2 separate regions of the Homo sapiens genome follow, and region 1 is linked to region 2. Evidence: promoter capture Hi-C in human tissues and cell types (Jung and others, 2019). All regions are on one chromosome and are shown on one strand. The core of a region is centred on a gene start or on the middle of the fragment in contact, and the rest is flanking DNA. Distances in the headings are between cores, read along the strand shown.

Evidence for each region. The method cuts DNA at HindIII sites, captures the fragments that hold promoters and counts their contacts. A contact is called where the count stands out against the background at its distance.
Region 1: a contact is called between the fragment with the promoter of OLFML3 here and a fragment that was not itself captured in region 2, in 1 of the 25 tissues and cell types used here (IMR-90 fibroblasts).

The regions. Positions count from the first base shown.
Region 1 is chr1:113,976,668-113,981,412 of GRCh38, reverse strand. It overlaps OLFML3 (olfactomedin like 3), which reads right to left and starts at 1,939. Exons shown (of 3, transcript NM_020190.5): 1 at 1,783-1,939; 2 at 796-1,081; 3 at 1-464. The coding sequence starts at 1,896. It overlaps HIPK1 (homeodomain interacting protein kinase 1), which reads right to left. Exons shown (of 16, transcript NM_198268.3): 16 at 3,544-4,745. RefSeq lists enhancers at 1-194, 1,862-2,695, 4,001-4,578. The HindIII fragment of the contact is 5,723 bases long and covers 1-3,838 here.
Region 2 is chr1:114,749,623-114,754,098 of GRCh38, reverse strand. It overlaps CSDE1 (cold shock domain containing E1), which reads left to right. Exons shown (of 20, transcript NM_001007553.3): 2 at 3,892-4,278. Among named protein-coding and RNA genes, the nearest start is that of CSDE1, 6.1 kb to the left of the region's middle. The HindIII fragment of the contact is 5,566 bases long and covers 1-4,153 here.

The DNA.
Region 1 (4,745 bases), core at 690-3,189, 770 kb after region 2:
GGCATAGACAGCCCAAAGACCTTCCTCATCAGCTGCCAGGTCGATGTAGGTGTCTGCTGTCAAGCCGTAGGGGGGGATCAGCCCCTCTGCTGGGAATACTGAGCTGTCCACCACTGTTCGGTTTGCCAGGTGGAATTTGATTAGCTGCAAAGTGTTCTCCATCTCACCACCTCCACCAGGTCTTCCAGGAGGCCTCCGAGCAAAATAAAGAAAGCCACCATATACCAGCTGCCCTGTGCCTACCCAGGGGAAGGGCACCCGGACTCGGGAAGCTTTCCGGGCAGCCATGGCAAGGGTGAAGTCACGCAGCCTTGGGAAGACAAAGGCTGTGTCATTCTGTGTCCCATCTAACACGTAGATCTTCTCTGTTTGCCCCAGTGGATCCTTGGTCCATAGACCAGCTGGGCCACCAAATCGCTTCAGAATCTTCATTGATCTCACTTGAGAGATTGTGTAGCCACAGTCTGATGAGAAAAGCACAGGAAAAGGAAATAGAGGCAAGAATTAGATGCCTCCAGCAGGAACTCCCCCAGGGTGGGTGATCTGGAGAATAGTGAGCATTTGCCCAGTGGTTGCCTCCAATCTTAGGGAGAATTGAGAAAGAGCGGGTACCACAGCGGCCTGGATCCCCAGAACCTCTCCTTAATAGACCTGGCATTACAGAGGTTTCCCTAAAACAGATTCCAGAAGACAGAGCCACAATGGACTGGGACAAAGCGAAAAAAAGAGTAAGAAGCAAGGAAGGAAGAATATCGGTTCTGAGAAGAGTTAGGGGCCTGCTTTCAGATTATTTACCTGTCACCATATCGTACTTCTCATTCCTTCTTCCCTTGCCTTTGGTCCCAGGGCCTCCAGTCACCTTCTCATCAAACTCTACACAGGGCAGAGCTGGGTTCTGGGTCTCCAGATAGTCTACCTCCCGCTCCAGACGATCCACTCTCCCGGAGATGGTGTCGGCCTCAGTTCTGAGTGCCTCCCGCTCCTTCTCTGCCACCTCCAGCAGTGGCAGCATCTTGTTCTTGAAGTCCCGCAGCTCAGCAGCATGCCGACTACTCTGGTCCTGGCACTGGGCCAGCCGTTCCTGAAGGGATGGGGGATCAGGAGGGAGGCTGCAGGGTTACAACTCCCAGGCAGGGAGAGGCCCAACTCGGGAGTCAGGAATGGGAAAAAAAGAGCAAACTCAGCCAGGCTTCAATATCCCCTTCCACTCCTGCAGAAAAGGAAACCAGATGTGCAGAGGTGCTAAATGTGCAAAGAGCCTAGCTGAGATTCACCTAGGCCCCTACCCCGACTCCATGTCCTCCAGCCTGTGTTCTCTGTGAGCAGTGCCACTGAGCCATCTGAGCCTCTAGGCAGGTCTAAGCGCATGAAGGTGTGAAGAGGTCTCTGCTCCCTTAGCAATTATCCTCTCGGACACTAAAATGCTACGGATCTCAACCTGTTAAAAAGACAGGAAGTTATAGATTCCCCGGGAACCTCCAACTTCAACAGAATCATCACCTTCTCTGGAGATGCAGCCCCACAATTTTGGCTCTCGTTTCCACTCTGCCCCCTTATTCTATCTAATCCCAGAGGTAAAACGCAAAAGTCGATTTGCTTTGGAATTGTTCTATGTGGGGTAAGAGGAGGGCTTGTCATTCCGAAGGTCCTCTTATTAAGAGAGAATTTTCTGTAGACTCTAACAGAGCCCTTTCTTGTTATCCCCAGATCCCTAACAAACTGGTTGAACCAATAGCCCTGGAATCCTTCTAGGCGGGGCTAGAAGAGAAAGGGGTCCCTCACCTCTAAAGCAGCTAGTCGGCGTTCCATGTACTCCACAAGGTGGTGCTGCTGTCCTTGGAGGGGTCCCGACCATGACAAAAGGAACAAGATGAGGAGAGGGGTGCTGGGCCCCATGGCAGCCTGGAGAGTGGTGCCAGAGTAGAAGGAACGTACAGTCAGCCTCTTCCCCTCAAGCCCGAGGGTTAGCTTTGGAGGCGGGGTGGGGGCGGTGCCTTCTCTCCTGATCTCTGGGTCTCTCTCACTACTCTGGAATGCTTTCAGTTCTCTTTACAACCCCCACCCCCTCCTTTCCGCCAGGATTGATCAAACACAGATGGCCCCATTGCACAGCAGCCAGAAGCCTTAACCACCTCCCGCCTAGGCTGTAGGGTCCTCTGGAGGGGAAAGAGATGGAAACCCGAAAGCAGAGGCCTTCTAGGCAGTCAAGCAGGGAAGCTAGCTGCAGAAAGCAGAGACCCCAGAGAAAACTCAGCAAACGCCATTCCTGTTTTAGGAAAGTTTCACCAGTGCTGACTTAAGAAACTGACATTTTTCATTAATCTTTCCCTTTCCCTGCAATAGAGTGGGTTTTCAGCCTTGTTCAGTAGAAGCTGGGAGCTGGGGAGGTGAGGCTTGAAGGGAGGAAGCAGGAAAACAATGGCCCAAGTGGTCAAGCCCAACTTATTCTAAAGCTCATTGGCGCCACCTTGTGCTAAGCAGCTGGTGTCATCTCTCATGATAATACAGAAACTAAGGCTTAGACTTCACCCCATGAGGAAAATTTTCCACAAAAGCCAAATATATTGAATTTACAGGGGTTTTCACCACTGAAATGCATATTTCCCCCAAGACTATCCAATTACTACTTTGGGGGCTATGCAAATATCTGATTTAGCCCAAGGAAGAAAATATAACTGAGATTAAAAAAAAAAAAAAAACAGGTCACTGAGAAGTTAGTAAATTAACTCGATCGTCTGGAAGTTAAGGCTGACAGCAGCGCTGTTTTACATGGCTTTCCTTTGCTTGAAAGAGGCCAGATATAGTCTCTCACCAAAACTGAGGAGTGTTCAGTGAGTTCACACTAATTTACTATACATTCATGTATTGCGGGGGGGCGGAATCTGATATATATATATATGTTGTTGCAGTCTAGATCAATGTATTCTGACTTCCTTACCACTGGGAGAAAAGACTATTGGTTATTTCTCTTGGTTGTGGTCCAAAAGGGTATTTCTGAGTGTTTCTCATTTCTATATCCCAACTAAGGCTGCAGGAGCCCAAAATGAATTAATGGCCACCATAAGGTAGACTTGGGCCATAAGGTAGACACACGGGCCGAAAAAAAAAATCAAATAGAGCATTTACTCAGAGACCTGCAGTCATTAATCGAAACAAACCCCTATTTCTTTATCGGGAGAAATTCTATTCACTTTAGAATCAACAGAATCTGATGAGAGGTTCCTTCTGTAAAAAGGACCATGACTCTAACAGTACAGTTTGAAAGGAGGGGAAAAATAGCAGCTTCCTGTGGTTACTCATCTTTTCATTCTGCTACTGCTATCTGGCAAAACATATGAGGAAACAAAGCTTAATTAGCCGGTCTCAGAAGTCTTCTACCTCTTTCAAAGGGTCAGATCCAGATGATGTGAAGTAAGGACCCTGGACACTGCATTCTTGGGAAGTATTCCCTGCCAAACCCTATTCATTTCCAGTATGGAGATTTGTGTGAAGAATGAAATTGTCTCTAGTACTCTACTGATGTTCAAATACAATATGCTTAGCCACTTTCAAAGATGTCATTTATTGATCCCCTTTATATCCTATAACAGAAGTCAAAAACAGCCACATAAGTCAGAAAATTTACCCATTTTATTGATGCATTGCAATTGCTCTACATTTTACCATATTATGTAGAAAATACTGAAAATACAAGCTACTTTGTAAAACCAAAGACAAACATTGAATCCAAAGATAAACTATGTTTTACACAATGGACCCTTTTCCCATAGTTAGTATTAAATTTTAAATATCTATTTCTTTTGTTAAAATGATTATTTTACATACTCCCTAAGTACATCTGCATTACAAACATAGCTCAGTAATTCTCAGAAACTATCTGTTTCTAGAGGCTTGTTGTAAAAGAAAGCGCACAACCAAAAAAAGGGAGAAAGCAAAAAAAGTTTAAATCGCACACAATAACTAGCATATCAAATACATTTAATAAAGTAGGAATTCCATTGCAATATCAAGGATTCAAAGCAGAAATACTAACATTACATATAATGTACATATAATGTACTGCTACATGTAGTGAGATTATTTTTCAAGCTGAATTGAAACCACACATTATATAAAGTTTAGCAACAAACAACCATGTAGACATGCTGCACCATCTATCAGTTAAAAAAAAAAAAAATCAAAATAGGAAGCAGGCTCGGGCCACTCCTGTCACTGAGAGGCAATTTCATTTCCTATCCTAAAACAAACCATCTCAACTAGTGAATTTTTGCATAATAATGCTGAACAAAACACACATTACTGTGCTTGCCTGGCTAAGGGCAGTCAAGCTTAGCCCCTCTAGTGGAGGACAATGGATGAGCAATCACAAAAGCAGGCTCAGAATGGCCAGAACTGTTTGAAATGGAGTTCTTATTCCTGGGGTTGGTATTTCAGCTGAGCACTGAAAATAATATCACCTCCTGGGAGCTATTAAAAACTCTGGAGTGACCAAGTGTCCCTATGAGCCCAGAGTGGCTACACTGAACCCTTCTCCGCTTCTTCTCTCACCCGGAAAGGAAGAAGTTGGAAATGCCAAGTTCTGAGAGAGGACTTAAAGCCTTAAGCTGGTTTGAGGTCAGGTCACTGTGACCCAGGCCAGCTGCTCACTAAATTCACCAGGCTTCCTCCCTTCCTGTCAGGGCCAACAGGGCTAACCCCAGGGACAGAATCTAAAGCCACAGTGAGCACATACATACACATTCAGC
Region 2 (4,476 bases), core at 121-2,620:
GAGAATCGCTTGAACCCGGGAGGTGGAGATTGCAGTGATTAAGTAATAATACTATTTCCATGCTGAGCAAAGGGAAAAGGAGTTGATTACTTAGCACACAGTATGATTCTCAGATACACATTTAAATTGTTCCCTAGTGTTTTTATTGGTACCCTATGGTGGGTTTGTGGGGGCGATTGTTTTGAGTCAGCGTCTTACTCTGTCGCCCAGGCAAGAGTGCAGTGGCACAGTCATAGCTCACTGCAGCCTCAAACTCCTGGATTCAAGTGATCCTCCTGCCTCAGCTTCCCGAGTAGCTGGGACTACAGGTGCATGCCACCACACCCAGTGAATTTATTTTTTATTTCTAAAATTTTTTGTAGAGACAGCATCTCACCATGTTGCCCAGGCTGGTCTCAGACAATCCTCCCACCTTGGCCTGCCACAGTGCTGGGGATTACAAGCGAGAGCCACCACCCCAGCCCAATACCCAGTGTTTCATGCAACTTAAGTTTCAAGCTTTTAGGGGGATGGAGGAGATGCACTTGTGTTCCTAGGGTTAAGGCAAAAGAGGTGGTTAGTAGCACCAATTAATGTTAATCCGGGCATGAGTGGATAGCTATTTATATTAAACTGCCTGACCAATACCTTTAAGTTCTTCAGTAAGTGTTAATTTAATTGAAAAACATTTAGTTAACTATAGAAGCTGTGAAGATGTTAATTCGGCCAGTAAATTATTCATGACTGTTGGTGGGTTCGTTTGAGCTTTAATAGCTCCTAATAGACCTCATTAGTGCCTAAGAATGGCCCTGCAGTACTCCAGAGTTTCAGTTCCAGAAATCTCTTTTTTTGTGTTACTGAATCTTGGACTTGACAGTTCTTAATGTGATACGACAACCTGGAATGGGTTAATCCAGTTCAAGTGTTTCAAGATAACTTGTTTTCTCCATGTTGAGTTCTTTGGGTTCATTAATACACCTAAAGCATTAAGATAAAACCAATATACACAGTCTGTATTTTTTAAAGAAGAGATTATTTCTTGATTGGATAATTAAAACTATATAATTAAAGGTGGTATAACTGTTTACACTTGAATTGTGGCATAACTGTTTACACTTGAATTGTGGCGTCCTTTTGCTTATTAAGGATTAACTACCTTTTTCCTTTGGTTGTATATGGCAGCACTGGATTAGGTGCGAAAGGAGGCTGTGATAAAGAAATTTGAGTTTACCTCTCAGAAATTTGAAATAGAATTGGAGGAACAAGATACATAAAAACATGAAGTAAACAAAGTACAGAAATTGCTTGGTATCACTTGCTGCAAATTGCTTGGTGCAGGCAGTGGATGTTACTGCCCCATTCATTAGTAGGAATTAATGAATGAGTCTGCTGGAATGGTCAAGAAAGGCTTTTTTGTCACCTTGAAGATCACAACATAGTATTTTTTTGTGGGAAGACCCATATAAGCAAAGGTGGCTAGAATTCAGGAATCTCCCAAGAGTTGTGTTTAAGGATTAGGCGAGGTAATGGACTTCTGGTAGAACTGGAACACAGTAGAGAGTAAGGATGGAAGGTAGAATAGAGACACCTGGAATAGTAGTTCTTAATCCTGGCTGGAAGTCAGAAACACTTGGAGCAGGGGTTGGGGGGAGATAACAAGGCCTGGCACCTAACCTAGTGTAGTTAAATTTAGAATCTTTGTACGGGACTCAGGCTTTGATTTTGTTGGTTTTTGTTTGTTTGTTTGTTTAAGGTTGCTGGGGGTGGGTGGATAGCCAGGATTAAAAACTTCCCATCTAGAATGGTGGAAAAATAACTGAAGATGTTTGACAGGGGAGATGAGAAATGAAATTGGAGAGTTTTTGTTTTGTTTTGTTTTTTGAGACAAGGTTCTGATCTGTCTCCCAGGCTGTAGTGCTGTGTCACTATCTTGTTCTCTGCAGCCTTGACTTCCCAGTCCTAAGTAGCTGAGGCTCCAGGCGTATACCACCATGCCTGGCTAATTTTTTGTATTTTTAGTAGAGATGGGGTTTCTCCACGTTGCCCAGGCTGGTCTGGAGCTCCTGGGCTCAAGCAGACCTCCTGCCAAGGCCTCCCAAAGTGCTGGGATTACAGGCGTGAGCCAACTCACCTGGCCAAAATTCAAGTTTTTGATAGTCTGGTGGTGGTATGTGACAGAAAATGGAAAGTGTGCACACTGGAAGTTGGCGGATATATTAGACACCTGAGCTAAAATATGTCACTTAGTAGGATAAGAGATGAATACAAAAGATATAGCGAGGGAAATACTAACACAACTTGCAACATTGGGTATGGTGATGGAGAGGGGAAGAATCAAGATAGTTAAAGAAGTGGCCCTACCTCAAACCAGTTGTATTACTCTGAGTGGAGGCTGGGCATAGGTTTGTTTTTGTTTTTTTTTTTTTAAAGCTTCCCAAGTATTTGAGCACCATTACCCTGAGACATATATCTAGTCTGGGTAATAGGAGAATGATCTAAATAAAGTTGAAAGATCAGACAAGTGTATGTAACATTTGATATTTGAAGGAACATGGGATGTTAGAGAATAGAAAATGGCCAGATCAGCTGTTATTGAGTTTTTATTTTACATGTGAGGAAAGTGAAACTTAGAGAGATTAAATAACTTGTTCATGGTATTTACTAGTACCAGTGATTGCGATTAGGCTCTTCTGGTCTGAGCTATTTAATCAGCTCTGACCTCTCACCTGATAATCATTCTTCTGATGTTTTCAAATATCCATTTCTCAGCACGTACACCTTTTTCTTATCTCTGTAGAAATAATTTTCGTTAACACCATTTTGTAACTTTGGAGTCAGTGCAAAATTGTTGTTTATTTTATAGCTAATATAAAGCAGAAATGTGATTTTTACTGATAAATAAATTTTATTTCTCTTCTATAGACATTTCTCATCTATTTACTGCAGCAGTGCAAATGAGATTTCTGTTTGCTTACTAAGTCATCTCCTTTAGGATTTCAAGACTTAATACCACTTTCATCAAAAACTAAGGCACTGTTTCCTGTTACATCACGTTGAAATGCTTCATAATCGGGCTCCGCTACACCTGTCACACTACATATCCTATTTCACTTCAGCCCAGCTCTCTGTTCTAGCCAGGCTAGCCTGTTGATTTTCCTCTGAAACAACAAGCCACACATGTTGCCACAGGCATTCATGCAGAAGACTTCACTTGATGCTGGGCTTAGAAAATCATAGAATGCATGGTCGCTGCTCTGAAGAAAGAATTTAGTGGCATATTCTCGCTTGACTTATGTGCTGTTTCATGCCTAGAATACTCAGCTATTTTCTTTCTCCTAGAATTCTGCCTGATTTTCCAGGTTCACTTCAAATTCCACTTATTTAAAAGCCTTGGTTGCTTTGATGGACATGCAGTTGTGGATAAACAATAAATAATATTTCTAGATAGTCTGTGACATAATAGATACCTAGATACTAATTGAGCAAAATAATTTTTGGCATTTTTGTCCTATACTCTGTTTTTTTTTTCCATGTTTACATCTTGTCTTTTCAGCAAGATTGTCTATGCTCTCATGGCAGGGACTTCTTTTATGTTTTCCACAGAGCTAGATCCTTATAAAATACTTGCACTAAATTAAACATTATGCCATGTAACTGAGCTTATTTGGGGGAAGAGGTCAATAAAGACTATGGAATAATTTGAGGTCTTGGGTATGAGATACCAAAGGAGGTAGTTGCTAGTACTTGAGAGATTGCTCCAAATAACATCAGATGAGCATGCTTCCAAGTTTCCTGCATTACTTGCATGACCCATGATTCTAAGTTAATGAAATGAGTTTGTCCCTCTTCTCACCCACTGTCCCTGATTATTTTATGTATGTTATACTTAATGTCTTCATTTTTTACCTTTAGTATGAAGTGTAACAGAACAGACTTTACCACCTGAAACTGCTGCTTCAAGTTCAGATCAGGCAAGGAACAAACCTCGTAACAACTAACAAGACCAAAGAAGAGTACACTTAAGTTGAAGACACAACACTTGATCTGAAACAAGAAGTTTGTGCCTACTCAACAGCTTTGAAAGAGCACTTCCCAACGCTGCTAGTAGTCTTTGTTTTCTTCAGTGCTGTACTGTGAGATTGCCCGGTACAGCAGCAGTTGTATTCTTTATTAGCTTGGTAGATCATTTTCTCTCGCTCTTTTTTTTAATACTAGCAACTTTCATCCTTTGAAACGTGTGCTGAAAAAGAAGAATCAGCAAATACTACTGAAAGTGCAATATTTGAGTATCACTGCGAGGTAGGTTTGTAATTTCCTATTAAGAATCAGTTCCATAATTCTAGATTTCCTGATTATTTGGTCAAATATAAAATCTTTATTTGTTCTTTTCTAAAGGTATTCAGAAGACAGTTTTTCTATTCTCAACTAGTATGAAATATCAACACTATCTCTTGTTAGATAAGGACAGTATTTATGGTCAAACATTTTTCATACCAG